4 separate regions of the Homo sapiens genome follow, and regions 1, 3 and 4 are each linked to region 2. The links are contacts of gene promoters, found by promoter capture Hi-C in blood cells and fetal thymus (Javierre and others, 2016). All regions are on one chromosome and are shown on one strand. Each heading gives the region's core, a stretch centred on a gene start or on the middle of the fragment in contact. The rest is flanking DNA. Distances are from core to core; before and after follow the strand shown. Region 1 has its middle 84 kb from the start of C1QTNF9B. Region 2 holds the start of SPATA13-AS1 (SPATA13 antisense RNA 1). Region 3 overlaps LOC105370115 (a long non-coding RNA gene). Region 4 overlaps ATP12A (ATPase H+/K+ transporting non-gastric alpha2 subunit).

Region 1 (7,643 bases), core at 362-2,861, 270 kb before region 2:
TGCAGTGGTGCAGTATCTGCTGACTGCATCCCTTCACCTCCTGGGTTCAAGCAATCCTCCTGCCTCCGACTCTGGAGTAGCTGGGATTACAGGCACGCATCACCACACCCGGCTAATTTTTGTATTTTTAGTAGAGATGGGGTTTACCATGTTGGTCAGGCTGGTCTCAAACTCCTAACTTCAAGTGATCCACCTGTCTCGGCCTCCCAAAGTGCTGGGATTACAAGCGTGAGCTACTGGGCACCTGGCCTGTGGCCATTGATTTTTAATTGACCAGGTTGGCTAAAAGTTTATCAATTTTCAGAGAGCAAGCTTTTGATTCCATTGACTTTTGAGTGTGTCCGTTTTCTGTTTCATTGATTTCCACTGTTACCTTTATTATTTCTTTCCTTCTACTTACTTTGGGTTTATATCATTATGAGATGATCTTGTTTATCTCTAGCACCACTTTTTTCTTAAAATCTCTTTGTGGTAATGCAGCTACTTCAGCTTTCTGATGCTTTCTTATGTTTCCATGGTATGCGTTTTTTCATTCTTTTACTTTCGACTCATTTGTACTTTTGCATTTAAATAGCATCTTTTGTAGACAGCACATACGTTCTTGTTTTTATTAATATATTCCACCTGCTAATCTCTGTCTTTTGGTTCGACTGTTTCATCTATTTATATTTACTTTTTTTTCAGGGATGGAGTTTCTCTGTTGCCCAGGCTGGAGTGCTGTTCACAGGTCTCCTAACATTCTCTATTTGTCTTTTTTTGTTTGTTTTTGAGACAGGGTCTCATTTTGTGGAGTGCAGTGGTACAGTCACAGCTCGCTGCAACCTCAACCTCCTGGGCTCAAGCGATCTTCCCTCCTCAACCACTGGAGCAGCTGGAGTACAAGCATGCAGCACCACACCCAACTAATTAAAAAAATTTTTTTTTTTGGTAGAGATGGCGGTCTTGCTATGTCTCCCAGCTGCTCTTGAACTCCTGGCCTCACCTTGGCCTCCCAAAATGCTGGGATTATAGGCATGAGGCACCATGCCAGCCCTCTGTTTTTCAATTGAATACTTTCTATTGGTCTATCTTCAAGTTCACCAATGAATTCTGTCACCTACATTCTGCTACTGAGCCCACATAGTGATCTTTTATATATTGTTACTTTCTAATTTCCTTTGTATCTAATAGTTTAACAATTGATTATCTTGGGATATAATTATATCATCTTCCAGTCATGATAATTTTACCACCTGCTATGGTTTGAATGTATCTGCTAAAGTTCACGTGTTGGAAACTTGATTCCCACTTCAGTCAGGATCTCTTTGAAATTAAGAAGTGTGTGTGTGAGTGTGTGTGTGTGTGTGTGTGTGTCCTTGCTGCCTGAGGGTGGAGGAAGAAATTGTGAACAGGAATCCTGTATTTGCTTGTCTGTGTCAGGGGAAAAGAATTATACCCCAATTCTTTTCCGCTGATCCTCAAGCCTGGGAAATTTTAAAGGAGATGGGAAACGACCCCGCCTTCTTATGAATATGCAACAGTAAGGGGTTGGGAGAAGGGAGAGAAAAGGCCTGCAAGAAATTCACCCCAGGTCCTCCTGCTCCGGGCTCAGCCCGGGCCCCCCACCGTCCTACCCACGAAGAACAGCAAACAATAGCACAGCCCCGGCCCTGGAAGCCGAGCTAGCCGCAGAGGGTGATGCGGAACTGCTCATCGCCAGGGAAACGCGGCATTCGGACAGCCGTCCAGAGCCTGTCTGAGTTCTGCTGGGCGGGGAGCCAGAGACTGATTCGCTGCGGTCCTGGGCCCAGCGGCTGGGAGGTCCCGCCCTGGCCGAGGAAATGAAGAGGGCGCAGGGCATGGGGGCGGCGCGCACCCGGGACAGTTTCCAGTCGGCTTCTCCGTGACCTTCCTCCCCCTTCCAGCTCGGAGCGGGATGCTGGGATCCCTCCAAGGACCCTCTGAGGACGTAGGAGGGATGCTGAGACAGGCAAGTGGGATTTCTCTACATATTGTCACCTCGCCCGCACTTTTGGAGAAGGTAGAGCCAAGCAGCATTTGGCCGAAATCCTGTGCCCGTGGAACATTTTTTTCCTGAAGTGGGGGGTGAAAGTTGATGATCAGCGGCTCCGGGTAGGAGAAGGGATAGAGCTATAGGTGCGGTGAGGTTAGAGAAGTTGTCATGGCCGAGCTTGCAGTGAGCCGAGATCGCGCCACTCCATCCTCGGCGACAGAGCGAGACTCCGTCTCAAAAAAAAAAGAAGAAAAGAAAAGTTGCCGCGGCCCCAGCAGGCTCAAGGGGTGAGCGCATAGGGGCGCCGGGGCAGTAGTTGCACAAAGCCAGCCTGGCGGTCGCGTTGCCATGGCAGCGGGGGAGGGGCCGAGCCGCAGCGTGGCTGTGTTGCCGGGCGACGGAGGAGCCGCGGGGGAGGCCGAAATCTCCCGGTGCTCAGCGTCACTGCGTGAGCCCCCACTCTGATGCTTCGTTGGTGTGTGTGTCTGTCGGTGTCAATCCACAGTCCGCTGGCAGCCTCTGTCACTTGGTTAGGGAATAAACTATCACCTACTTAATACCTTAATGCTCTGCTTTTGAAAATATTTGGATTGTGGTGTTATGGAAGACATGAACAAGAATAGTACTCCTACTTAACGAAGTTTTGTTTTGTTTTGTTCGTTTTGAGACAGTCTTACTTTGTCGCCCAGGTTGGAGGGCAGTGGCGGATCTTAGCTCACTGAAACCTCTGCCTCCCGGGTTCAAGCGATTCTCCTGCCTCACCCTCCCGAGTAGCTGGGATTACAGGCGGCCGTCGCTACACAAGGCTAATTTTTGTATTTTTAATAGAGAAAGGGTTTCACCATAATGGCCAGGCTGGTCTCAAACTCCTGACCTCAGGTGATCCGCCCGCCTCGGCCTCCCTAAGTGCTGGGATTAGAAGCTTGAGCCACTGCGCCTGGCCAACAAAGTTTTTTAAAAAATACGTTGTATTTCCTCGTTTTTAAGGTAGCATCTACTGATGGGAGTTCCTTAATTATCATTTAAAAAGTAAAGTACAGAACCAGATTTGGATCCACGAAACGAATTGTTCCTCAGCTTTTCAAACATACTAACCAAAAACATTTGCAAAAGAAAAATATATAAAGCCGGTAGCAGTACTAAATATTAGGCCCAGCACTAAAAATGCAGACAGTTCTACTGTTGGAAAGATGGCGACTTTCACAAAGGACTAGAGAGCATCAGCCTCATTTTATTTCTATGGGTATTTTCATACATGGAGATGTGCTAGGTGATTTTGTCTTACTATGTCAAAGATTACTTGTTTTAGCCATATACCATAGGAAAAAAAAAATGTCAAGGGGTTCGAATGATCTTTTTTAGAGCAGTTTTTTTGTAGCTACAATAGTACTTCTATTTTACAAATTATGTTATTTGTTTACTCAGATACTCATTCATCAAACATTTACTGAGGCTCTACTATGTGCTGTGTACAGTGCTAGACTTGAGAGCAGAGAGATAAGTGGTGAGAAGAACATACAAAACTGAATTAGAAAAATTCACAGTTTCGGGAGCCGGAAATGCTAGGAAGCAGTTGTAAACCACTGTGGTACATTCTCATTGTGAGATGCCACCAGGACAGCCCCTGCTACTGGCCAGGGCCTCAGGTACACAGACCACAGCTGAGCTTGGAACTTCATTTGCGTTGTGGGTTTTGCTCTTTCAAGGCAGGCATTTTTGGACCCATTTAAAATAGAAGGAGTCCAGCACTCAGAGAAGTGCGGTGATAAGCCTCATGTCTCACGGCCAGTCAGGCTCAAGATCCAAAAGCCACTGCTATGACATATATTTTGGAACATTCGCCCTTTGATCATTAAATCCTCACTACCTGAATGACTATATTTTTTGATCATTCATAATGGTAAGTGAATTTCTTAAAAACAATAACTGTGATGCAATTTTCTTTTTGGTTGAGATCTGAAGTCACGTATTTCTAAAATCAGATACCAATTGCATTCTGAAGATGTGTTCTTCCAACTGGAATGTTGTCATTGTCAATAATACTTTTTCCAGGGGTTCCTGGGAAGTAAATGAGAAAATTTAAATTTGGTTATTCATGATTTTAAAACATGTAAAGATGTGTGTGTTTTAAAGTACTGTGTTTAATAAATCGCTATAGCATTAGATTTGTTTAAAGCAAAATACACTAGTTATCATTTAAGTTTTTATTAACTTTTTAAATTTTTTGTCAGATTTCTTACTTTCCACTTGCAGCCACATTAGAGAGGTCATAGGAAAAATTTCTACCTAGAAAGTTCAGGTATGGACCTGGCTGGTCCTGCATGAAGACTTTGCTATGCATTTTCCACTGCAGCCTGGGAAACCTCTTTGAACTAATTTTATAAGCTATTTTACTGTTAAAATTTTATTTTTTCAAATAGATTGCAGAATCCCTGAAGGCAAGGACCAGGTCTTCTGTGTCTTTAGAATTCTCTTCATAATACTAAATACAACACTCTTCATAAATATTAACTGGCAGAAAAAGCAAAAATAAACTTTACCGGACTGATGAAAACTAGAGTAGAACTAATACTTTTATAGATACTATCCTGAGTCACAGAAGTTTTGCTTATTTGCTGATTTTTTTTTCATTAAACTCTACTGTGAAATGCTAGGGAGTACCTATTTCATAGGTAGAAAAACTGAGTTGTAGTGATTAGCATATGAAATATTTTTCAATGCATTATCTTCATTGAGCCTTACAACAACCACTCAGGAATTCACATCACCATTTTTTAAATATGTGAGAAAACAGAAGCTCAGAGAAGTTGAACGAGTCAGACAGGGTCACCCAGAAAGGAAGAGGTGCATCTTCTGACCGTGTCACATGATTTTTATTCTGCCATTGCAAACCAGGTACACGTGTGAGCTTCGGGAGGCTGGGTCTCCCACCAGCCCTGGAGTGCTAGGTGCAAGATCCCTTCTCTCCCTCACCTCCTCAAGGCTGCTCTGCCGTCTGGGAAGAAGGTGAGAGAAACTCTTTCAAAAGACAAAGGGGCAGGGCCAGTGAAAGGAGGAGCTGGAGAGGGGCTCCCTGGAGCAAAATGAAGTGAGATTGAGAAGGAAGAGTCAAGTGAAGTTGATCGAAAACCAGCCACTGTTCAAAAATGGGAGTGAGGGGTTGGGAGAGAGTGTCTTTGTTCGGGCTGCCATCACAAAACACCACAGCCTGGGGGCTTAAGTGACAGACCTTGATTGTCCCAGTGCTGGGGGCTGGTAGTCCGAGATCAAGGAGTCTGCAGGGATGGTTTTTTCTGACGCCGCGCTCCTTGGCTCACAAACAACTGCCTTCTTACTGCGTCTTCACGTGGTCATCCTTCTATATTGTCTGTGTCCTAATCTCTGCTTATAAGGACACCAGTCATACTGGATTAGAGCCCACCCATATGACCTCATTATACCTCAATTACCGCTATGAAGGCCCTATCTCCAAACACAGTCCCATTCTGAGGTACTGGAGTCAGGACTTCATCCTGTGAATTTTGAGCCCAGAGCAGAGAATTTTTAAAAAGTGGACACTGATCTGTGACTTTGAAGACAAAACCTGTTGACCTGTTTCAATTGCTTTGTTATTCTCATTAGTATTTTCTCTTAGCACAAATAAATGGTTGAGCAAATAGTGGCCATTTATTTTTACACTAGTATATTCTGTTGGTTGTTTTTTTTTTTTAAAAAACATCCAGAACTGAATTCTATATCTAGCTTGCTTCATAATTTATTTTCACTCTCATCTCTGCAGGGCCAGCTTCAAACCTTGTCAAGCTCTGACAAGGGAAGATGAAGCCTAGTTCCAGCTAGGGGTGACCTGTCTATCTGCATTTTTTGAGCTGCAGAGTGATGGGAGTCATATTCGCTGCCTGTGCAGCACCACAGGCCTGATGAAAATGAAATGGCAACACCGTGCAGATGGCAAAGCGTAGGCCTCACAAACATCCTGGCCGTGAAGGTAAGTTGAGCAACTTTCTGCCTGCATGGCATTATCCATGCTTATTTCTAACAAGATACCTATGGCAGAGTATTTCAGGCTGTTTGTGAAGGGCAGCCAGTAGAATTTGAAGGTTTTCACTGAGGCATTGAGCAACTAACAAGGGTGTAATTGGAACGTGTGGCAAGAACTCCAATTGTTAAAATATGTGGTCATAAAATGATAGGGTCTAGGGCGAAGCCTGCAGGTCTTGTGGTCAGTATCTTGCCCTTGGCTGGACTACATAGTGTCTGTTTTGTAAAGGTAGAAATCAATACTGTGTTTCAAGTCAGCTAAAGAAGAAGGTTCCAGAGTCTTCTGCCACAGAAGTTTCGGTATTCACCAGTCATCAGAGTCTCAAAGTACTTGTGTTTGTCTCCTTAACTTCCTTCATTACTTTATATTCTGCCTTCAAAGGGAGGGAGAGTAGTCTTCTATTTTATCCATCATTTGCTGAAAGAATTATATGAGGTTGCTTCTTGGCTCTTCTCTGTAAGTTGAATAGAAACCGTGTGCATTGTTCTAGGAATCTGTTTCTATCATGGCCCCGCGCAGCACCTGTCCTTCCCACCGTGAGTGGTGGAGCTGTGGTCTGTGTCATCCTCGCATTTCCAACCCCAGTCATACCCCTTTACTTTTAAGTGTGAGGCCCCGGATGAAATTCTGCAGTATCCCTGCTGAAGAGCAGGGCTCCAATGCACCTGGTGGAGCTTTTCCAAGGAACACGGAAAGTGTTCGGAATGCACTGCTTGGACAAGATCCAGCAGCTTTCCTTGATCGGTGCTTTCAGAAACAGGTTCTTGTGTAGAACAGCTACGGGTATCCCAGCCAAAAAAGACTGCCTATTTCTGAGAGCTGTGCATACTTAATTAGAACAGGGATTGGTGCCAGCACTTGGAGTTTGAAAAGTCAGCTTTGAACATGAATGCAAGTCCCTGCAAGGTAGAATGGTCTGTTTCTCCTTATTTGAGCCAGAAATCTGTGTAACCGGCCGGCGTGCACATCACATGGCACAGATTCAGGAGGTGAGCTGGTCTCTTCAGTTGCTGCTTTTATAGCAGCTTTTAATCAAAATGCTCACCTCAGACGCACCCTCCTCAAATTAAGGAACAGAATAACCAAACACAGATGTGTAAAGAGTGAGGGAAAACAGTTGTTCTGGCTGTTGATGACTTCCTCAGGCGTGGGCATAGTGAAATGCCCTTTCTTCCCGTCTGCTACCGAAGATGGCAATGACGTTGAGTGGCTTGGAAATTCAAACCACTCAACAAGTATTGACCAGTCACTCCCTGTATACTCAGTGCTGACAGGGGCATGAAATGTGTCACGACCTTTCTTCCTGAGTAGTTTATGATCCTGCTGAGGGTGAGCACACACAGGGAATCATGGGAAAGGTTGTGTCATGGCGTGGCCACCCCAGGAACGGCTGATGTGGGGGCTCAGTGGCCAGAGGCCCAGATCCTCCCCTGCTGTGGCTTCTTTCCTCTTACCTGGGTCTCCTGCATGTTCACATCACCCCATCCCCAATCCAGGCTCTGTCCCATTTTTCAGCTCAGGGTCTTCCTCCAGTCCGGTGAGAGTGGTTCAGGAAATCCTAGCTCTGGTTGTGTCTGCCCCAGTGTGAGTCTGGCTGTGGGGTTTCAAGCC
Region 2 (6,873 bases), core at 843-3,342:
AAAGACACCAGGCTTACTGCATGTGGGCCCAACTTAGTGACCTCATCTTAATGTGATTATCTACCTAAGACTATTTCCAAATAAGGTCACACTCATGGGTACTGGGGGTTAGGACTTCACCATCTTTTGGGGGGACACAATTCAATCAAAAACGTATACCATGTTTGTAACAATATGCAACGTGTACCCATATGGCAGAAGATTTTGAAAGAACAGGCAGAAATAACAGTAGCATTGTTAGGGTGGTAGGAATGTAGAGCACTTCTCCTCCCACCCCGTACCTGTGTACACACAGCCTTTCCCTGCTTTCTGTAACACTGGTTTTTGTTGTTATGTTAAAAATGTTTTAATTTTAGCGTTCTTTTGTCGAAAAGCAACAAAACCTAACTCTGGCTGTCTTAAGCAAAAAGGGAATTTATTGGAAGGGGGCCAGGTGTGCCCAGAATTGATGGGATGGCTGGGGAACCAGGCTAGGGAAGGGATGGCATCCAGGCTCACTCCTGGGAGTGGAGGAGCCACCGGAAGGTGTGTGATGGGAGACTGGCCATGGCACTGTCCCAGGAGCTAGTGAGGTATCCAGTGAGCACTTTATCTGGGTATCCAGTGAGCGCTTTGAAAATACAAAACATTTAATTAAAGACCCTATCTTGAAGAAGTGTATACTTATTTGGGGAGGAGTTATAATAAGGAGTTAACTTATTAGGAGTTAGTGACTGTCTTTCTGTCACTCACCCAGGGGTTCAGGTCCCAGGATGGAAGATTCAGCTGTCCGAGCTTAGGTGATATGTCCACCACCTGGTGGTACTGGAACAGGAAGAAGGGTGGGGTGTCTGTCTCCAGGGACCCTTGCCTTCTATATGTGAAGACAGGCCAAGTAAGTATTTAACAGAGCAGACAGTACTATAAAGAAAAATAAAACAGGATAGAGAGCATTCATTTCCAAAGAGTGTTATTCTAATGACACTCTAATGAACAGGATGCACCTGTTCCATGAACCCTCTCTCTCTTCCCTAGAAGGAGACACCCAGATCCTCATCAGTGGCAGCAGACACCTCCAAGTCTAGGACCTCTTAGGATAACTAGTCCTCCAGTTCCATGCAGTGCCTCTTCAGCGTTGATTAACTAGAGGCAGATTTAAGCAACACATCCCTACCAGAATGGCAAGGCAGGGAAAGGAAGGAAATAGAGAATTTGGGATGCTGTGGAGAATAAAACGTCATGCAAAGTTTACATTTCAGCATTTGAACAGATTCCATAAGTCAATATGTAGGATGCACCAAGGCACCAGTGACGGCCCTGCAGAAGATGACTTTGGGTAATGTGAGGAGTAGGAGCAGGTGGGGGAGATAGCCTCCTCTCCAAGGAGGTGACGCTGGGGACAGGTGAGTAGGAGGCAGTGAGGCAGAGATCCGAGGGAGGAGAAGTCCTAGCCGAAGGAGCACCAGAAGCCCAAAGACAGGCAGGAAACATGATGTGTCTGAGGTTCAGCAAGGAGGCCACAGTGACAGGAGCTCAGGGAGCAAGAGGCAGACGAGGATGTTGCAGGCTGGGAGGTGGGCTGAGGCTGGAAAGGGCTCTGCAGGTCATGAGGAGGCTGAGCTTGTTCTAAGTGTGGTGTGAAGCCATTGGCAGCAGGAGCATATTATGTTCCGGTTTATGCTTAGAGAGGGAGGGCAGTTTGTGGGGGGAAAGGAAGAGGAATGGAGATTGATTTGAAGGCGATTGCATTAGTCCATTTGAGAAATATGGTAGCAGTGACCACAAAAGCCATCCCCATTTTCCGTGGGTGCTCATTTTCCCAGTGGTACGAAGAGGCAAAAATGGCCAGCCTTGGTTCTGATTCACTGTGGCCAGGACTGTGAACTCTGGAGGAAGTACTTCTCCCTTGGGCACTAAATTCAGTTTCAACAGAGCAGAGTTCCTAGGTGGGAAGAAAACATTTTGCAAGTATATTATTAAGTAATCCTAAGAAGCCGCTTCTATGTTTACCCTTGGTTTCCGGCCCTGCATCTTCTGCTGTGGGCCAGCCTCTCCAAATTAGTCACTGCTTCAGAGCTTGCGTCCCATCCAGGGCAGTATGGCAACTTCTGGGTGTGTCTCCCAGCTGCCTCTGTAACTTCATTTTTATTTGGTTGTTATTGGGTGTGATGGGGTCATGTGCTTCCTTCTCTGTGACGTTCTGGGCCTGGATGGCGTGTGAGATGCTGCGACAGGATAGGGGCCTTCTAGAGGATCCACAGAGTGCAGGAAAACAAATCCAAGCCCAGCATAAGTGGCCCTTCCAGTAGGGACAAATCACCACCCCCTCTATTATGAAAAGGCCCCACTGCAATCAGCTTTCCGCAAGGGGCTGTCTGGTTCCTGCGGGGAACCGTATCATCAGCTTTGTTGAGGGGAAGGCCCAGACTTCCTGTGGTTTAGCCCAGGCTTGGCATCCATTTTTGCCACCATGGCCTTTTTCTTGCTTGCTTCTTTTTTTTTTTCCTTTTTATGAACCCACTGAGCAAGTATCAAGATGACTAGGAAGGAAGACTGGCATCTAGCTGCACATTGGGACAGCATGTCCACATGATGATTGATTAGCCTCTCTTGCAATAAGGATTCATGTAGGATGGACATCATCTCATGCTCTGCGGGTATTCTGAGGTAGCCAGTTATACTCCTTCCCCAAACCCATCCTCAGCCCATCTTGTTCTTTCCACATTCCTCCAGGCCATTCAGCCAGGCCATTAGCTCCTAACCAGGAGTGCGCACGAGCTAAATCCTTGCCTTGCCAAAGCCATCTCTCCTACTCAGAAAGGCTTGGGAAGAGTATTGCTTACATTTGCCGCCGGGAGTTTCCCTGTCCTGAGGACACAGTCACCAGGCTGATGGTAGGAGTTCTCTTTGAGAAGCTAGGAAGAAGACTTGTAGTAGGATGCCTACCCTGAGGCTCCCTGGCTCTGCTCCATCAAGAGGCCTGAGTCTGGGAGTTGAGTGAGGGCCCTCCCTTGTCTTCTCTGTCATGGTGGCTCAGGTCGGGCTCTGCTTGCCAGCCCTGGAGAGTTCCTCCTACACAATGTTGTGGTACCTTTGTGGAATCACTCATCTGTTTTGTTCCTGGGGACCCCGAGATCAGTTAACAGCACAACCAGAGATTTCACAGGTCAAACCATTCAGATGACCAAGCTGGCCCTGCTGTGTGGTATAGTAACTATGCCCACCTTTTTCCCATGACAGATGTCCCACCCCCATGGAGGACCAGGTTTGCATTGCAGTGGAACCATCTCTCAGCAGCATCTCTGGCCTAGAGAGATTAGCAGTACATTAATTATAAAAGCTGCTGTCACATGGGAGATGCAGCCCAAGGGGTGGTGAGACTCACATGATAGACCATCTCTAGCATTTCCATCCCAGTCCTGGAACTCCTTCCTTTCTATGCACTGAGGGTTTTAGGTTTATATACCAACGAAGTGCTAGAATGGCATCCAGCTCAGTAAGCCCACAAATTGAGCTCAGCAAACCAGCTGTAAAAGCATCATTTTGAGACACGTTGGGGAGATTTTCAGATGAACTGAATATTTGGCAACATGAAGGAATTATTTTTAATTTTGTTAGTTGGGATAAGATAGTGCAGTTATTTTTAAGTCCTTGTTTGTTATACACAGATAGTGAAATACTTTCTGCATAAAATATGATATGTGAGATTTGTTTTAAAATACTCCAAAAAAGTTGGTGGGAAATAGTTGAAACAATATTGGCAAAAGACTGATAATCGTGGGTTCATGGTATTATCTGCTTTTGTGTGTATTTGAAATTTTCTGTAGTATCAACTTTTAAATAATAATGAAAGTATATTTCTCCTCCCTGGTCAAGTATTCTCAAAATCTTGATAACCAAAGGTTGGTAAATGGATATAAAAATAGAGCTAGACAGGAAGAATAAGTCCTACTGTGCCACAGTTAATGACAATGTATTGTATAGTTCAAAATAGCTAGAAGAGAGGATTCAAATGTTCTTAATACAAATAAATGATAAGTGCTTGGGGTGATGATATGCTAATTACCCTGATTTGCTCATTCCACATTGTATACATATATTGAAATATCACACTGTACCCCATAAATATTGTACAATTATTATGTGAGTTTAAAATAATAATATAAAAAACTCTCCAAATTAAGTAGTATCCACAACTAAATTTTTCTCAAAATATAGAAAATTGAACATTGCATTTAATTTTTTTTTTTTTAAAGAAATGAAGGCAGAGTCTTTCTAGGTGAATGGAGCCCTCCCTTCCGAGAACTTGGCAGCGCCGTGCTGTGCTCTTCCTTTCTCTCACCACTTTTCTCTGGCCCTGTTTGTAGCACCTGTCTTACCTCTTGCCAGCCACACAGCCTGCGAAGGCAGGTCATGTGGGACAGGCCTGAGTCATGTTTGTAGGCTACTGGGTGTGTTATTTGGGATAATAGAGTTGGGATAATGAATTTCAGTGGCACTTATTGGAGCCTTATCGGAGGGAAGAGTGACAACCTGTAAACACCACTGCATTGTTGGGGATGGTGTTTGTGGCTTCACCTTCCTTGGGTTTCAGGAAGGATGCCCACACTGCTAGAAGATTTTCCTGGGGAATTATCTTTGCCGCCTTTGCTTTGCTTTCAGTGAAGCTTTTCTCTTTCATTTGAGACAACTTACTCCATCACAGCCTACCTAAGCTCCTAATTTTTTTGTACTTAACATTGGGTTCCAACCATACTTCTTCCTTTAACCGGTCTGTTTATGTTGATCAGAAGTCAAATTCGAGTGCTTTTCAGAATTCTTACTTTGAATTTCCCTTTGTCTCTATTATCCATTCCCCTTCTCTTTCTACGTATCTTGTCCAGAGTTCAGATTAGCTTGCTTTTCTTATCTTCCAGAGAGGAGAGTGTCCAGTTTACTTCGCTGTTAGACTTGAGTGGGAACTTCACAGAGACAAGCAAAGGACGAATGCACACCCGTGCACCAAAGTCAGTCGATATGGGTAGACCCCTTTCAAAAAAAGATACCTGGTCTGTTACATTTCTTGAAAGCCCTTTAGTTAACCAGTAAGTACACCGTATTAGAGCATTTAGTAATACTGCCAGATAATAAAAGAGGAAAGTCAAGATGAGGTACAATAATAGCTAGATATAAAAACTAGAGAAAATGCCCTTTTTGAGGGGACACAAACTTGGCAAGTTGACTTGCTTTAAAAAATGTTTCTAACTTACTGAAGTAATTGCTCAATTTGATTTTTTAAATTTTTACTTTTTTTTTTTTTGGCAAATATAGTTCTTTTTTTGCAAGCTAGAAAAGAGAAGCAAATTGACCCAGTCTAGCACTCTAGTGAGCTAGGCTGAGTCACTCATTCTTTATCAGAGTGATACAGTAATACGAATTGCTAGCAGGCAGGTTGTAAAACTAAATCATAACCACCTATCCACATTTTTCATTAGGAAACAACCAAAAATTGAGTCCTTTAAAGGCAGGTTATAAATAAATAACATCTTGATCTGTGAAGGGGACAGCATGACCCAAATTTTATGCCAACCAGCCTGTCTGAGAAGCCCATCTGAGCTGGCCAGTGAGTGGTGAAGAGAGGAGTGCTTTTGAAAACGTGCTCTGAAACGATAAGAATTCTGGATTCTGGGCAGGTGTGGTGGATCACCTGAGGTTAGGAGTTCAAAACTAGCCTAACCAACATGGTGAAACCTCATCTCTTTCTCTACTAAAAATACAAAATTAGCTGGGTGTGGTGGCGCATGCCTGTAATCCCAGCTACCTGGGAGGCTGAGGCAGGAGAATTGCTTGAACACGGAAGATAGAGGTTGCAGTGAGCCTACATTGCGCCATGGCACTCCAGCCTGGGCAACAAGAGTGAAACTCTATCTCAAAAAAAAAAAAATAAAAAGAACTCTGGATTCTGCCTGTCAATAAGAAAGCAAGTAAAAAGTGTCACAGATGTGTGAAATTGGTCCTTGTTTATACCGGAGTTTACCATGAGAATGAAGAGTTCATCTCAAAAAAAAAAAAAAAAAAAAGGCCAGGCACGGTGGCTCATGTCTGTAATCCCAGCACTTTGGGAGGCTGAGGTCGGCAGATCACTTGAGCCCACAAGTTTGAGACCAGCCTGGCCAACATGGCAAAACCCCATCTCTACTAAAAATACAAAAAAATTAGCCAAGAGTTGTCGTGCGTTCCTGTAGTACCAGCTACTCAGGAGGCTGAGATGGGAGGATTGCTTGAGCCTGGGAGGCAGAGGTTGCAGCGGGCCAAGATCGCACCACTGCACCCAGCCTGGGCAACAGAGTGAGACCTCCTCTCCGCTAAAAAAAAAGAGAGACTGAAAAGTTAGAGATATGAGTGAGGAATAAGATACTTAAATTTTGAAAATAAATGTCTTAGTGATAAATCCAGCATGCTACATTTCCCCTTTTACCACAAGAACAAACAAAGGACTATTTTAAAAGAAATGCTGAGTTCTAAACAGAACACTTTCTACCACAGAAACAGGTCCTCTTCCCCGTACGATCAAGGTTACTGCTCTTCCACTACTCAGGTCCACGTCAGGAGCTTTGTCAGGGCAGGAAATTCATAAAAGGAGAGCATATCCTAGCTAGCCACTGGGGAGCAAGGTTAGCATCCTTGGGGTGGACCATCCATATGGGTAAGCTGTAGTTTTGATAAGAATCTGCAGGCTGCCCGTGAGCATCTCGTCTCATGCCTGGCCTTGTGCACTCTGAGCTGGGTGCTGGGCCTCCCAAGAACCCCTGGGGCCCAACAGGCACGTGCAAGTGACCCTGCAGGAATGCTGCTACCTCCTTGCTAAGCCCAAGAGAACGGGGAAGACCACAGCTCCCAAAGGTCTTAGGGAGT
Region 3 (6,963 bases), core at 2,573-5,072, 300 kb before region 2:
GGAGGATGGTGAGGGGGTGGAAATGAGGTGGAACAGGAGGGAGAGAAGGTTTGCAAAAAGATGGTAAGGGAAAACAGAGTAGGAAGAAAAAGACAGGTGGGGAGAAAGATTGTGGGTAGATGCAGGGGGGAAGAGGATGGCAAGTGGGAGGAGAAAAGAGGGTGCTGAGAAAGGACGGTGCTGAGGGAGGGGGAAGAGAGGATGGTGAGCAGGAGGGAGAGAAGGTTTTGCAAAAGGATGGTGTGGAGAAAAGACTGGAGAGAAAAGTTTTTGGGTAGATGGAGGGGGATAAGAAGGTGGCAAGCAGGAGAGGGAAAAAGTGGGTGGCGAGCTGGAGGGAGAGAAGGTTTTGTGAAAAGACAGTGGGCGGAAAAGAAAGACCATGGAGAAAGAAAAGACAGTGAGGAAAAAGTTTTTGGGTAGATGGAGGGAGGAAAGAGAGTGGCAAGCAGGCTACAGGAAAGAAGAGGGTGAGCAGGAAATGGGGAAGGCTTTGTGAAAAGAGGGTGGGGAAAAATTCGGGGGGTAGATAGATAGGGAAAGAGAGTGGTGAGCAGGAGTGGGGAGAAAGCTTTGCAAAAAAACGGGAAAATGTTTTTGGATAGATGGAGAAGGGAAAGAGGGTGGCAAGGAGGAGGGGGGAAAAGACAATGGGGAAAAGAGGTTTTGGGTAGCTGGAGGGGAAAAGAGTGTGGTGAGCAGCAGGAGTGGAGAGAAGGCTTTGGGAAAAGACAGGGGAAAGTGTTTTTGGGTAGATGGAGGAGCAAAAGAAGGTGATGAGAGCAGGAGGGGCTGGCCAGGGAGCGGGGGAAATGATGATGGGGAAAAAACGGTGGGGAAAGTTTTTGGGTAGACGCATGGGGAAAAGCATAATAATACCATCACCATTATTTGTGCAAGCCATTGGAGTGAAACTATCTGCATCATTGTATTTGACGCTCATAAAAACCCTGTGAAGTTGGTCTGATTATAATTTACAGACAGGGAGGCTAAGGCTTAGAAATAAAGTACTTTGCCCTGTATTCTCAACTGCTTCTCTCAGGTGGAACTAGGGAAAATCAGCATGCAGAGGTGTGACCTGTGATCTGACTCAGCCTTGCGTGGTTTGGAGTTTGTTGCTGTGGTGTCTGACCGTACATGCCAAAAGGCACACCCTGCATTGTATCACATCAGATTTAATGTTCCTTGCTGGCATTTTTGCTGTTAAACGTTTTTCATTGCTCTTTAAGGAAGGGCATTTAGTGAGGAGGAGGCTCTTGGCATTGTCACTCACTTAGCTGTTTTTCTAGATACCTAGAAGCTCTTTTTATGTTAAAAGTTTTAACTTTTTAAGAATTTAAAGAATTTTTGAGTTAGGAGATTATCCCCGTGTGCACTTTAAAACAGTGACCCAAGTGCTCTAACACCTAGAGGACTTAAATGAGGATTTCCAGCTGGTTGTGGCAAGCTATTGGTGGTGGTGTTGGCATAAAAATGCAACATGTGCTTGCTGTATTAGTAATTCATCCATATGCCCACTTCTCATTTTTATAGAAGGCTGAAGAAGTGCACATGTCCAATCAAGAATATTAAGGAAGAGTGAATTGGAGAAAGTACAAAATTGAACATACAAGTATGTAAGAAAAAAGCTGTTCTCTCTCATAGGCTAAATGTGTTCTTAGAATGGAAAATGGCTTGTAGCTAATGCTAGAGAAACAGAACAAACAATGTAGAATCACTGATGAAAGTTAGATTTACTAATTTATTTTATTTTATTTTTTGACGATGGAATCTTGCTCTGTCACCAGGCTGGAGTGCAGTGACGTGATCTTGGCTCACTGCAACCTCCACCTCCCAGGTTCAAGCGGTACTCCTACCTCAGCCTCCCGAGTAGCTAGGACTATGGTGCATGCCGTCACGCCCAGCTAAATTTTGGATTTTTAGTAGAAACGGGGTTTCACCATGTTGGCCAAGATGGTCTAAATCTCTTGACCTCGTGACCTGCCCGCCTTCGCCTCCCAAAGTGCTGCAATTACAGGCGTGAGCCACCATGCCCAGCTGAAAATTTATTTTTAAAAGCCCTTGAGTCGTGCCAAAGCTGTTGTCTCTCTTTACCCATTTGTACAGCAGAAGAGAAACTGTCTTTAAAATCTGTCTGCCTGGATAAACTCAAAGGAGCCTTTACAGAAAGGTAAATGAGAAATCAAACATTTGTATGATCTAGGCGCATAGATGATTAATGTTCGCATTGAGCCTGATGTGGATGGATCTCCACAATGTGTGCTCACCGCAGGGCTGGACATGGGCCATCCTGTTCTGTCGGGGCTTCTGATTCGTCCCCTTCACTTTAGAGATAAGCCTCCTGACATTGTTATTTAGACTCACTGCCTCTCCTTCAGCCCCTCCTGCTCACACATCAGTCTCCGGAACCCTGCCTTCCATAACTTCGTTGTTTTCATGACAGTTTAATAATTAATTTTATTCCTGGAGAAATGTTGTTCAGGGGGATTGCATATGCTCTTCTTGTTAATATAGAAAGATGGATGAATCAACCTAATTACTATACAAAAACAAATGAAAAGCTTATTAAATAAATGTTCTTATTATACTATATGTGGAAATGTACCTATAGTTTAGTATATTTTTTCTAATTTAAGAATAAGATATATACGTGTGTGTATATATGTGTATGTATGCTATAAACCTCTCATATTTAAATATGGATCACAGATCTCACATAGTAGGAAAGTTCTTTCAACTTAATTTTATTTTATGTTAAGACTGTAGACCACTGTTATATTAGAGTGTCTGTATCATAGCTAAGTTATATTTTTCAAAGTAAGCCAGTCTGTGGCTGGCTGTTCTTAGCTGGCAAAGGCCGAAGCTAATTCTGAAGCACAGGGCATTTTTGTTAGCAGATTGTCCTGAGTGATGGAAATTGCACTTGGGATGAATGCCAGTTCATCTGGATTACCTAGAATTCCTTGGAGGCCATGGTGGAAAGGATCAGCTGCTCTCTGAGAGTGGGAAACACTCTTACTCTCAGTAATTCTCTGTTGTGTGCTGGTGTGGGTCAAATATGTAAGACGCGTCGTATTTACATTTGCTTTGACTCAGCTGCAGAGAACCCAAGCCCCAGTCCCACCAAGCAAATCTTCTCCAGGTGGACAGCATATCTGAAATGGCATACAGGAAGGGAAAGGATGACAAAGGGTCTGGAAGCTCTCACTAACGTCACAGTCTGCCTTTCCTCAGCTTCCTTGTTTTTAAAATAAGGGCTGGAGAGACATGGCAAATAAGGGCCCTTTTAGTATTAGCATTTCAGTCTTTTTCTGAAGGTATTAGGAGAGAATTAATGATTTATCACCACCTCCTTCATTACTTCTGTCAAACTCTGCTAGAAGTAAGGGAAAGCATCCTTTCTTTGTTTCAGCACATTCACACAGACTGGCTAATGAGACCCCACACTGAAGAAGCCTAGAACTTCCACAGACTCCCTGAAATCTAAGTCCTCATTTTTAACATACAGCTTTTAATACTAGCTTCAGAAGTCCCGGATCCCTGCAAAGGTAAATGTTTTATTTTCTATATATTCAGAGAAACCATTCTCTGAATCTGTGCATTGCTCCTGGCAGGAAGCAAATGTCAGCTCATTCCTGTGTAATTGATACGTGACATCTTAGTTTCAAGGTTCAGCCAAAGTACTTACTAATAGATTTTAGATGACAGCTATGGAGCTTTTTCTGTCATCCTTCAGTGGGAAAATCAGAAGGATAGAACTCTTGATGTTGAGTTTTGATGCCCTTATGGTAGTTTTGGAGAGAGAAAGCTCAAAACAATGTTAAGAAAAAAATAGAATACATACATATGAATTACGTTTTACTTATCTGTTTAATGAATGCAAATTTGTTGATTTGAGAGGTAAAGTGACTTTTAAATCATTTTTATAAAATTCCGTTAAACTGAGGATTATGTATGAAAGTACCAGAATGATGCATGGGGCACAGTCACTCAGCAAATGTTAATACCATTTTTTATAGCATGTATTTGAAGGGCGATTATTTGTAATAATCTCAGGAACATTTGTCTCTTCATATGAGCTGCTGTCATGCAAATAAGGATAATCAGACTGTCTTAACTAAATGTTGGCTAGTTTCACTCAGGGTTTTCTTAGACTAGGGTTTGGTGAAATGTAAGAGCTCTGAAGATGAATCATCCTGTTAATGAGAAAATAGACTTGGCCTAGGTAGCCCATTGCATTCTTTTTGGTCTGTTTTCCTTTAAATTCAGGTTTTTTAAAAAGCATAAACACTAATGTCATCAGGTGGTTTGGTCTTGAAGCTGTCCTTGTAAACTCTAGAAGTCATGGGAAACATGAGGCATGTAGTAGGTGTTCCTTAGATTTGCTCAGGCCAAGAGCTCTTTAGAAGTAAAATATGTTTTACTCCTTTAAGGGATAGGCCTGCCTATCTCGGTAGTTAGGAAAACTTGCTAGTGGTTGTTACATTTTCACAAGAAGCTCTGCACAACAGAGCCTTATCTCCTGGCTTGGTAGCTGAGTCTCCTCTTGATAGTTTCCAAACAGCTTAAAATGCAGGGCTGTGTTAACTGCTGACGGTGTGGAGAAAAGATGTTTAACCAGGCCAGGGTGACAACTATCACTGTTTATATTCTCAGTAAAGTTTTAATTATGAAAAAGGATTTGTGAAGTTGGTCAAGCCATAGCCAATCTGGTGTGCTTTGAAAGACTTTTGTATGTATGGTTCTATCAGGGAAGAGGGGCATCTTAGGATGTGATGTAGGCCCAGGACTCCATAGGCCTGCTATTGAAGCCAGCCTGGCAAACTGGGCAATGGCAAACCTTTGCTGCAGCCCTCCACCTTGTTTAACCAACCTCCTTGGGAGTGTGACCTGTAACCAGGTGGCAATGTTCTGTTTTAGCCTCTGCCATTTTACAGTGGTGGCCTGGGTGCAGTCCTGACTTAGGGAATGAGTCCTTTCTGGTTTGATATCTGCTTGACCTTTGCCATTTGTTGATTCTCTTCCCCTCCACAAATCACCTTGAATTTTCCTTGCTCTGAACATCTAGGAGGTTACTTTTGGTAAAGCTTGAAAGTCAGAAATATTGGCCACGTGGCGTGACTAAAGTCAGGTAATAAGGAATTTAAAAGGCTTTTCTTAAAGAGTGCTCAGCTTAATTAAAAGGGAATATCCAAGTTACAGGTATGTTTAAAAGGCCTTTATGTTTTTCTCTTCCTGGATCTTGTTTTGCTGGAGAAAGGTTTTTCCTCAATCAACTGAATTATTTTTCTCCATTTTGCCTTGCCACTTTTAATGCACGTATGAGAGGCCCTAAGATAATTTCTCATGGCCTGGGACTCCTTGGAAAAAAACAGAAAAGTTGCCATTGATTCCACTGTGGGAGAGACCTCTGTTTTCCTCATGGAGGCCCAGGAATTAGAGGAGGATAAATCCCTCTCAAAAATCTGTTTTTGTCTTCCAGCTATACCTGTTTATTAGGTCCCTAGAAACTGCATGCTTTCCTAGTCTTGCTCTTAAAGGGCTCCACCTAGGGGCCAGTAATCCAATTGGGAGATTGGCAAATGAAAAATCCTATAGCTACTGGATCTTCTGTGTAGTTATACATGTGTTGTGTGTGTGATGTCTATGAAAAGCTCCAATTAGTTGACCCTAAGAAGGGTAATCACTAGCATCAAATATTTTTAAAGGGGAAAAAAAGCTATGGTACCTTTTGGTTCATGTGACTTTAATCTTTGAGAAATAAAAACAAAGATTATTGGTAAAATGCAAATGTCATCAAAATGTAAATTCTTTTTTCCTGGAGTTAGATTGCTTTGAACTAGATAAAATGGTTTAAACAAGTTATGGAAGATTTCTAAAAAATTAATCTTGCAAAAGAAAATCTGTGTGTGAACGTTGACTAAATTCAAAAGGGTTATAAAAGGTTTTTGCTTTTTTTTTTATTTTCTTGAGACAGAGTCTTGCTCTGTTGCGGAGGCGTGGTCTCAGCTCACTGCAGCCTCCACCTCCTGGGTTCAAGCAATTCTCCTGCTTCAGCCTTCCTTGTAGCTGGAATTACAGGCACACACCACCACGCCTGGCTAATTTTTGTATTTTTAGTAGAGATGGGGTTTCCCCATGTTGGTCAGGCTGGTCTCGAACTCCTAACCTCAGATGATCCACCCACGTCTGCCTCCTAAAGTGCTGGGATTACAGACATGAGCCACTGCACCCAGCCTCGTCTCAATTCTTAAAAAATAAAAATTCTATTACATCATTACAGCTTTTGTAGAATAAGAGTAGTTTACAATCTTGGACTTACAGAATACCAGACTGAAATCTTTGTTCAGTGTCCCATAGACTTAAGCTTTGTATGTGTTACTAGTATCTGTGGCATTCAATGGCCTTGTACAAATATGAAATGTTGCTTAGGCATATCTTTCATCCTATGCAGAACCTTTCATTTTGACTTTTATGAAAATTGTAATTCATATAATTTATGTAAAGTTTTTAAATGTAGAAACTTTACTTCCACACTGAACTTTGGAGTCATTTCAGTAAAAGGCTTTAATACTCTGCCCTCTGTGCCTCCACACCTACCATTTCCCCCCCTTTTTTTCTTCTTTGAGTGAAATGGTATTGAGCTGTCTGGTCTATATGGAAGAATAGGTGTCTATATTCTTACTCTCTATTCTAACACAATAATGACATTTTCCTTTTATTTTCTCAGTTGTGAGTTAATCACTTTTTTTAAAAAAAGGTTTGAGATAGTGTTACTCTCTGTCACCCAGGCTGGAGTGCAGTGGCACAATCATAGTAGCTCACTGCAGCCTCAACCTCCTGGTGCAAGATAATTCTTTATTATTATGAATAGTTTACAATTGTTTAAAAGGAACTTTATAATGAAATAAATAGTTCGGAAGAATGGTCCAAGAATCTAAGTCAAGATGAGCTGAACTGGGG
Region 4 (7,518 bases), core at 4,931-7,430, 460 kb after region 2:
ACTCTGGGCACTGGTGGACACCTGTAGCCTAGCTACTCAGGAGGCCAATGCAGGAGGATTACTTCAGCTCAGGAGTTTGAGTCCAGCCTGGTCAACACAGAGAGACCTAGTCTCTTAAAAAATAAAAATTAAGAACAAATAAAATAAAAATCTTATTCCAGATAACTGGGCTAGGAATGGAAATAGGTTGTACACCCATTGTCTTTTAAAAAAGAGAAAGAAAGAAAGAGAAAGAGAGAAAGAAAGAGAGAAAGAGAGAGAGGGAAAGAGAGAAAGAGAAAGAGAGAGAAAGAGAAAGAAAGAAAGGAAAGAAAGAAAGAAAGAAAGAAAGAAAGAAAGAAAGAAAGAAAGAAAGAAAGAAAGAAAGAAGGAAAGAGAAAGAGAAATGAATGCAAATTCTCTGGCCCCAGCCCAGTCCTCCTGAATTGGGAAGTCTGGAGGTGGGGCGCAATGATCTGTCTCTTAGCAGGTCCTCCCACCTGGAGGGAGAGGACGGCACAAGAAATTCTCCCTGTAGGGGAAGAGTGTTTTATAACCAGCATCCTTCAGAACTGCCAGCACAGGGTGATAAAAAGCAGCTGATTTCTAAAGGCACTATTCTTAAATTTCCATACAGACAACACGCCCTCTACTGCCTATAGCCTGGATGGGCCAGCTCCATGCCCCCCACCCCATCCAGCCAGTGCCCCACCCACCCCAGCCCCCCTCCCCTACTGTGGGTAGAGCAGAACATCCTGGGGTTAGACCTCACCAGCCTCTTCCCCTCTAGATCCCCTCCATTGCCTTGGCGTACGAGAAAGCTGAAAGTGACATCATGAACAGGAAGCCTCGCCACAAGAATAAGGACAGGCTGGTGAACCAGCCGCTCGCTGTGTACTCATACCTGCACATTGGTACGATGAGGGCGCGTCTTCCCCATCACACGAGGGCCTGCCCCGAGAATTCACTGGAGTGGGGGGCACAGCCAGAAAGTGTGGTTTTCCTGTGGGGCCTGGGTTGGGGAGGGAGGGGGAACCGAGAGTAGACAGGATGAGGCAGTTTCCTGAGGCCATCATAGAACCTGTGTCCTATCTCTCTTGTTCTTTCAGGCCTCATGCAAGCCCTGGGAGCTTTCCTTGTGTATTTCACCGTCTATGCACAAGAGGGCTTTCTGCCCCGCACTCTCATTAACCTGCGGGTAGAATGGGAGAAGGACTACGTGAATGACTTGAAAGACAGCTATGGGCAGGAATGGGTGAGTGGCGGGAGCCCTGCTGCAGAGTCCACCTGATTCTCTCCATGCTCATTGCCCTGCGCAGAATTACATAGAACCTCCATGTCCCTGAACAGCCTGGGAAAGCTTCAATTAATAGGGCTCAGGGCCCCCTTGCTGACACGTGTTTGGCCTTTGCCAGGTCTCATGGCACAGCCTCCTGTCTTGGGCTAGATGACAAGAGGTCCCTTTTTTTACCTTAGCTTTGCCATTGGTATAGAAGAGTGACCAGCCCAGCCACACCCACAGTGCGGCCAAATAAATTTACATCTTTCAGGCCGGGTGCAGTGGCTAATGCCTATAATCCCAGCACTTTGGGAGGCTGAGGAGGGAGAATCACTTGAGCCCAGGAGTTTGAGACCAGCCTGGCCAACACAGTGAGACCCTGCCTGTGTTAGAAATAATAGTAATGATAATTTTTTAAAAAATTAACATTTTTCTCTACTCAGCTGGTTCAAGAAAGAAAAATGTTTCTTTCCAAACACTAGAAGGTGGTCCATTCTCAGTCCGGGTGAGGTGTGGAAAGAACATGAAGCTTTAGAGAACTGCATTGGAATTTCCTAGAAGTTTTCCTTTAGGCCTCAAGGTCTCTTCCTTCTCTGCCCATTAACAGACAAGGTACCAGAGGGAATACCTAGAATGGACGGGCTACACGGCTTTCTTTGTTGGCATCCTAGTCCAGCAAATAGCAGATCTGATCATCAGGAAAACCCGGAGGAATTCCATCTTCCAGCAGGGTCTCTTCAGGTACTGCCTGTGCCCGGCCTCCTGGGGCAGCCCTGGGCCTGCCGTGCAAGGATGATGATGATTTGTTTTTCACAAGACAGAGTTCTGGCCACACTTGTAACCCCAGAGGCATTGATTTTTCTGGTGGCATGGTCTGCTGGGTGTATGATCATGAAGCCACAAGAATCCCAAGTCTGTCTGCTTTTGTGTGTCTTGCAGAAATAAAGTCATCTGGGTGGGGATCACCTCACAGATCATCATTGGTCTGATCCTCTCCTATGGCCTCGGAAGTGTCACAGCCTTGAGTTTCACCATGCTTAGGTGAGTTCACCCTCAACAGCATGGAGGAAAGAGCCAGCCTCTGCTTTGAGCTGTCGCAGCCTAAATAAACCTGAGGATTCCCAGGGTTCTTCCCCAAGTCTTTCAAAAGACGTCAAACTGATCCCATGCTCTGTGAGCCCAAAGCTTTGATCTGCATTTTCCAGAAGTGGAAATGGGTTTTCTAGACCTCACCAACCGGCCTTCATCCTCATCCAACAGGTTGCTTCAAAGGCAGACATTGCTTCTAGCAGTCACAGTGCAGGTTAAACAAGGAGCTTTCCACCTTTATTTTGTGGGACCTCGTGGATTTGTCGTTCTTTGCAGTAAAGCAAGACAAATGAACGAGAAGCCCCATTCCCATTGGGCAGGGTTGGGCTATCCCTGTGGATGAGTCAGGGTTCACTTTCCATCCCTTTGCTTCCAGGGCTCAGTACTGGTTTGTGGCTGTGCCGCACGCCATCCTGATCTGGGTGTATGATGAGGTGCGGAAGCTCTTCATCAGGCTCTACCCTGGAAGTGAGTAGCCTATGATTTTAGAGGCTCTGTTTACCCACTTCAACAGACTCTCCATTTCTGATGTACTTTTTTCTACCTCTACAGGCTGGTGGGATAAGAACATGTATTATTAAGACCACCTCCCTTCCTATGTCTCTCAGCAGCACGTTGGGGCACACTTGTTCATCTTCTGACCGTTTGCTGGGCTATTCCCCTGCAGTGCAGACATCGTCAAAATTCAGACAAGAGGAAATTTTCATGCAGAAAGCTGTATGCAGGATGCTCACTGATGTTTTGCACTTTAAAACTGAAATTCAACTCTTTATATAGGATTTTCTTTTCTATCTCCATCTCCTCATTAAAAAATACGTACATTTCGAGGTAATGGTATAGGGAAGAATGTGTTTATGTGTATTTGAAACTCCTTGATGTTAATAGTCTTGTGTAACCCAGGCATCTACTGGGGCCTGCCTTAAGCTCTAGCTAGGATTGCTCAGAACTCCTTTCCACACCCTATTAAAGGCCCCATGACCTCCCTAAGATTTCTGCAGATCCCCTGAGAAGGTATGTTTTCATGGTCTCCTTGCTCGAAAAAGGCCAACTCACCCGAGGGTCTGCAGGAGATGGAAGTGGCGGCAGGTTTACATCACAGCAGCACGCATGACCTCAGCTTTGACTCGTTTAACTCTGAGACGTCCTTCTTGAAGGCCCTTGCCACAGTTTCCCTGGCCACGCCACCCCATCCCACCTCTGGTCATCTCCCCAGCCCTTTATGCCCCGTCGCCCTCCACCCCTACATCAGCTCCTCCAAAACTGAGCTCCCAGTTCATTTTGCATATCCTAACTCAAAATGCTCAGCTAATCCAAGGGGACTTTCTTTACCAGGATTCAACCCTAGTAGAGAGCTGTTATGGTTTCAATAGTCATATTTATTTCTTGTAAAACAGTTGCCAGGTGCTCTCCAGCAATAACGTTTTGTCAGTCATGTTTCATGTTTTAACTTAGGTGTATTCATGTGTGACACTTCCATGTTGACAGGCCCGGAAAGGCCTCATTTTTAACTAAAAGATGTTTTATAAACCCAGGTTTAATTGTGGTGTTCTAATTGGTTCACATTTTTCTAGAATGAAGAGCATGGGACAAAAAAATAAGATATGATTTCCTATTTTCTTTTCGTTGCTCCTTCTGGTCATTTTACTTATCTGTGGAAGATCTGGAAATGTAGGATTTTTCTTTCAAACTCTTCCTCATGACCCCAGGGCTCCAGCCAGGGCCTCTGATGTGCCCTCGATTCTTGGTCGGACGCCTGTGGGAGGGCCCGTCTTTCTGCAGCAGCACTCGAGAGAAGGGTTCTACAGCCTTTCCATCAACTGCACACCTCGCACTAACTCATTTGACAGAACGTGAGAATTATGTTTGGTTAAGCTTTCCTCATCTAGTGGCCTGCCCCGTCACCTCTCTCCATTACAGTCTCACTCGGGGGCATCTGGGGCTGATGGCTCTAGGTTGGCATCTCCTGGACAGGAAAAGGCAGCCTTAGAGTCACCATGCTCTTGGGGTCACATGTAGGAGCAGGAAAGAGGGAAGGAGACTATCCTTGTAACTTTATGTATATAGATTCCAGTGCATATTGTGTGCAGCCATGTAAGCTAAAATAATGTTGCTGTCCTCAGGAGATTTGTAATCTGTGTTCAGCCACAATTATCATTGGACTAATCTATCAGTAGTTCCAGTGAACTGCAAACACTTCCCAGAGTGGTTTGGGCAGTGTGGTCATGGCTTTCTCGTTCCAGTCTCGACAAGGCAGCTAATGCTTTCTAGACTTCAGCTAAGAATAACTTGACCTTACTTAATCTTTCTTGACAGGCTGCCTGAGTGCTCATGGCTGCAATGCTTGGCAGCTCTTGGTCCTGCCAATGCCAGCAGGACAAGGCCATCAATTTAGCACAAAGCTGCAAGGTTTAACTTGGGGTTGGATTAGGGTTGAAAGGAGTTAACTTGGAATTAGAAGCCTCTTCATAGCAGGAACTATGTATGAAATAACGTTCCTATTTGTGCTTATTTACTCTTGCAAAAAGTTGACACTCAAATATTTATAAAATTAACAAATAACTAACTTAAGAAATCCCAGAAAAGACACTAGCATTATTGAGTAGCTTTATTAAGTTGTAGACAGAAAAAGGCAATAAAATCCATTTCAGAGGGTGTTTTTGGAGGGACTATTTAATTGACCCTCTGAAGCCTAGATGTCTTTTATTATAGGAAAAAAAAATGTCAATTTAAATCTAATTGATGTGGTAGAGTATCTCAGAGACATAAACATGAGGCTGAATTCCTAGAGTCTTTGCTTTTTAAAACAATCTAATTTATTCTGATTATAAAATTGCAGCTCTAAATGAGCTATTTTCTTAAATAGAAAATTTAGAATAAATGAGATTAAAAAGTAAATTAAAATCACCCTGAATCTCACTATGTAGTCATATACCTAAATGAAAGAGTAATCATTTCTTTGGAGTTTTTCCACACATATATTTATTTTTAGGTAAAATTAAATAAAGTTTTCAATTCTGCCTTTTTTATTTAACATCAAAAACATGGTGTTAATGACTGCACAGTATTGTAGATTGAGAGTGCTTTCGCTAACTATATCTGCACGGTGAGATAGCTCATTAATTTCCTACTAGGCATCTTTCTCAAAAAGGCTGCATCTTATCCTCAATATTGTACCACACATCTCCATTTTATAGAAGATTCCTCAAATTGGAATCAAGGCATTCAGAGCATTCCTAAGGCTCTGGCCACACATTGCCTAATTTATCTTTAGATAAGCTGTATCAGTTTACACCCCCACCAGCAATAGAAAAAGAATATTTATCTTGCCTATCATTAAGATGTGAATGCTCAGTCAACCAAAGAGCTTTCCATAATTCGACAAAGATGTAGGAAGTGCTCCTGCATGGCTTGAGAACACAGCCCAGAACAAGATAGAGCATGGAGCCAGTACACCAGTAGAGGGGTGAAAGGAAAATACAAATTGTGATAAGGTCTTGAAAAGGCATAATGGGGCTTAGATAATCAGGTGGCAGGATTGAGGGCAGTCAGCTAAGTCCTTTTAAATAGGGTAGTCAGAAAAGTCCTTTTTGTTGTTGTTGTTGAGACGAAGTCTCACACTCTCGCCCAGGCTGGAGTGCAGTGGCACAATCTCAGCTCACTGCAACCTCCGCCTCCTGGATTCAAGTGATTCTCCAGCCTCGGCCTCCCCAGTAGCTGGGACTACAGGCACCCACCACCACGCTGGGCTAATTTTTGTATTTTTAGTAGAGATGGGGTTTCACCATGTTAGCCAGGCTGCTCTTGAACTCCTGACCTCAGGTGATCCATCTACCTCGGCCTCTCAAAGTGCTGAGATTATAGGCGTGAGCCACCATGCCCGGCCTAGCAAAGTCCTTTTTGAGGAGATGAATGCAAAGAAGCAGACAGAATGACAGGAAGAGGGAACAGCATGAGCAAAAGCTCTGAGAGGTCAGAGGGGCCTAGCAGGAACACACAGCCAGGGAAGACCTTGGAACGGGGAACTGGAGGGACAGGCAAGAATCTCACCCTAGAGGGGTTCAGAGACCAAATGAAGGAGGTTGCATTTAATTTCAAAACAAGCTATTAGGCCCAGTGCAGTGGCTCACACCTTTAATCTCAGCACTTTGGGAGGCTGAGGCAGGAGAATCACTTGAGACCAGGAGTTTGAGACCAGCCTGGGCAACGTAGGGAGACCCCATCTCTACAAAAACGAATAAACAAGCTATTGAAGACAATTAATAAAAGAGGTGACCTGATCCAGTTGACATGTTCAGATCACTTTGGCTTCTGTGTAGAGGATGGGAGGCAGACCAGGCTGTGGTAACTGGTGTGTGTACCTTCAATGGAATACACAGACTCAATGGAGGAGTTTCTTAAGGGGGGTTGCCTCTAGGTGACTCGAGACATAAATGTTCAACTCAGGCTCCTAGAAAGGCTCACAACCACCCTGACTGCCCACATCACAATCAAGATAGAGACAGGAGATGCTCAAGCAGGTGTCATCTCGCCAGGAGTCTAGAACAAGATATATGTCTCAATGTACACGGCTGCACTCCTTAAGAGCCTGGACAGGTGCATCTGACTCTACAAAGATCATGAGTTCTCCACATTTGTTCATTCTGCTATCATCATTCCACTGGTGGCATCTAATGTCTCTTAAAAAGACAGTGGCTGGCTGGGCGTGGTGACTCACGCCTGTAATCCCAACACTGGGAGGCCGAGGCGGTCGGATCACAAGGTCAGGAGATCGAGACCATCCCAGCTAACACAATGATACCCTGTAACTACTAAAAATACAAAAAATTAGCCGGGCGCGGTGGCGGACACCTGTAGTCCCAGCTACTCAGGAGGCTGAGGCAGGAGAATGGCATGAACCCAGGAGGCGGAGGTTGCAGTGAGCCGAGATCACGCCACTGCACTCCAGCCTGGGTGAAAGAGCAAGACTCCATCTGAAAAAAAAAAAAAAAAAAAAAAAAGACAGCGGCAATCACTGATATTTGTTAAGTATCTATTATGTTCTGGGTTCCTAACAGCATGATCTTATTAACGCTCACAACGGCCCCGTCAGCTGTGGCATCAGCCGTGCTTTACACTCAGGAAGTTAAGCCTAGAGGCCCAGTGACTTCCTGGCACTGTGACCTCTCCTGACC

Evidence for each region. Contacts are between HindIII fragments. The CHiCAGO score rates a contact against its expected background, and 5 or more counts as called.
Region 1: a fragment that was not itself captured here is called in contact with the fragment with the promoter of SPATA13-AS1 in region 2 in 2 of 17 cell types (naive CD8 T cells and activated CD4 T cells); the score reaches 6.4 in naive CD8 T cells.
Region 3: a contact is called between a fragment that was not itself captured here and the fragment with the promoter of SPATA13-AS1 in region 2, in 2 of 17 cell types (activated CD4 T cells and total CD8 T cells). The highest score is 6.1, in activated CD4 T cells.
Region 4: a contact is called between a fragment that was not itself captured here and the fragment with the promoter of SPATA13-AS1 in region 2, in 1 of 17 cell types (naive CD8 T cells). The highest score is 6.1, in naive CD8 T cells.

The regions. Positions count from the first base shown.
Region 1 is chr13:23,977,956-23,985,598 of GRCh38, forward strand. It overlaps a transcript of SPATA13 not described here. Among named protein-coding and RNA genes, the nearest start is that of C1QTNF9B, 84 kb to the left of the region's middle. The HindIII fragment of the contact is 2,603 bases long and covers 311-2,913 here.
Region 2 is chr13:24,252,347-24,259,219 of GRCh38, forward strand. It overlaps SPATA13-AS1 (SPATA13 antisense RNA 1), which reads right to left and starts at 2,093. Exons shown (of 3, transcript NR_046531.1): 1 at 1,990-2,093; 2 at 733-853; 3 at 403-610. All of the region lies in intron 4 of SPATA13 (spermatogenesis associated 13), which reads left to right. The HindIII fragment of the contact is 5,552 bases long and covers 1-4,644 here.
Region 3 is chr13:23,955,191-23,962,153 of GRCh38, forward strand. LOC105370115 (a long non-coding RNA gene) reads left to right here. Exons shown (of 5, transcript XR_941753.2): 2 at 2,107-2,170; 3 at 3,413-3,548. Among named protein-coding and RNA genes, the nearest start is that of C1QTNF9B, 61 kb to the left of the region's middle. The HindIII fragment of the contact is 2,526 bases long and covers 2,560-5,085 here.
Region 4 is chr13:24,708,595-24,716,112 of GRCh38, forward strand. ATP12A (ATPase H+/K+ transporting non-gastric alpha2 subunit) reads left to right here. Exons shown (of 23, transcript NM_001676.7): 18 at 770-893; 19 at 1,089-1,234; 20 at 1,866-1,999; 21 at 2,198-2,299; 22 at 2,724-2,815; 23 at 2,900-3,878. The coding sequence ends at 2,928. Among named protein-coding and RNA genes, the nearest start is that of ATP12A, 32 kb to the left of the region's middle. RefSeq lists enhancers at 1,525-2,724, 7,308-7,518. The HindIII fragment of the contact is 3,927 bases long and covers 4,218-7,518 here.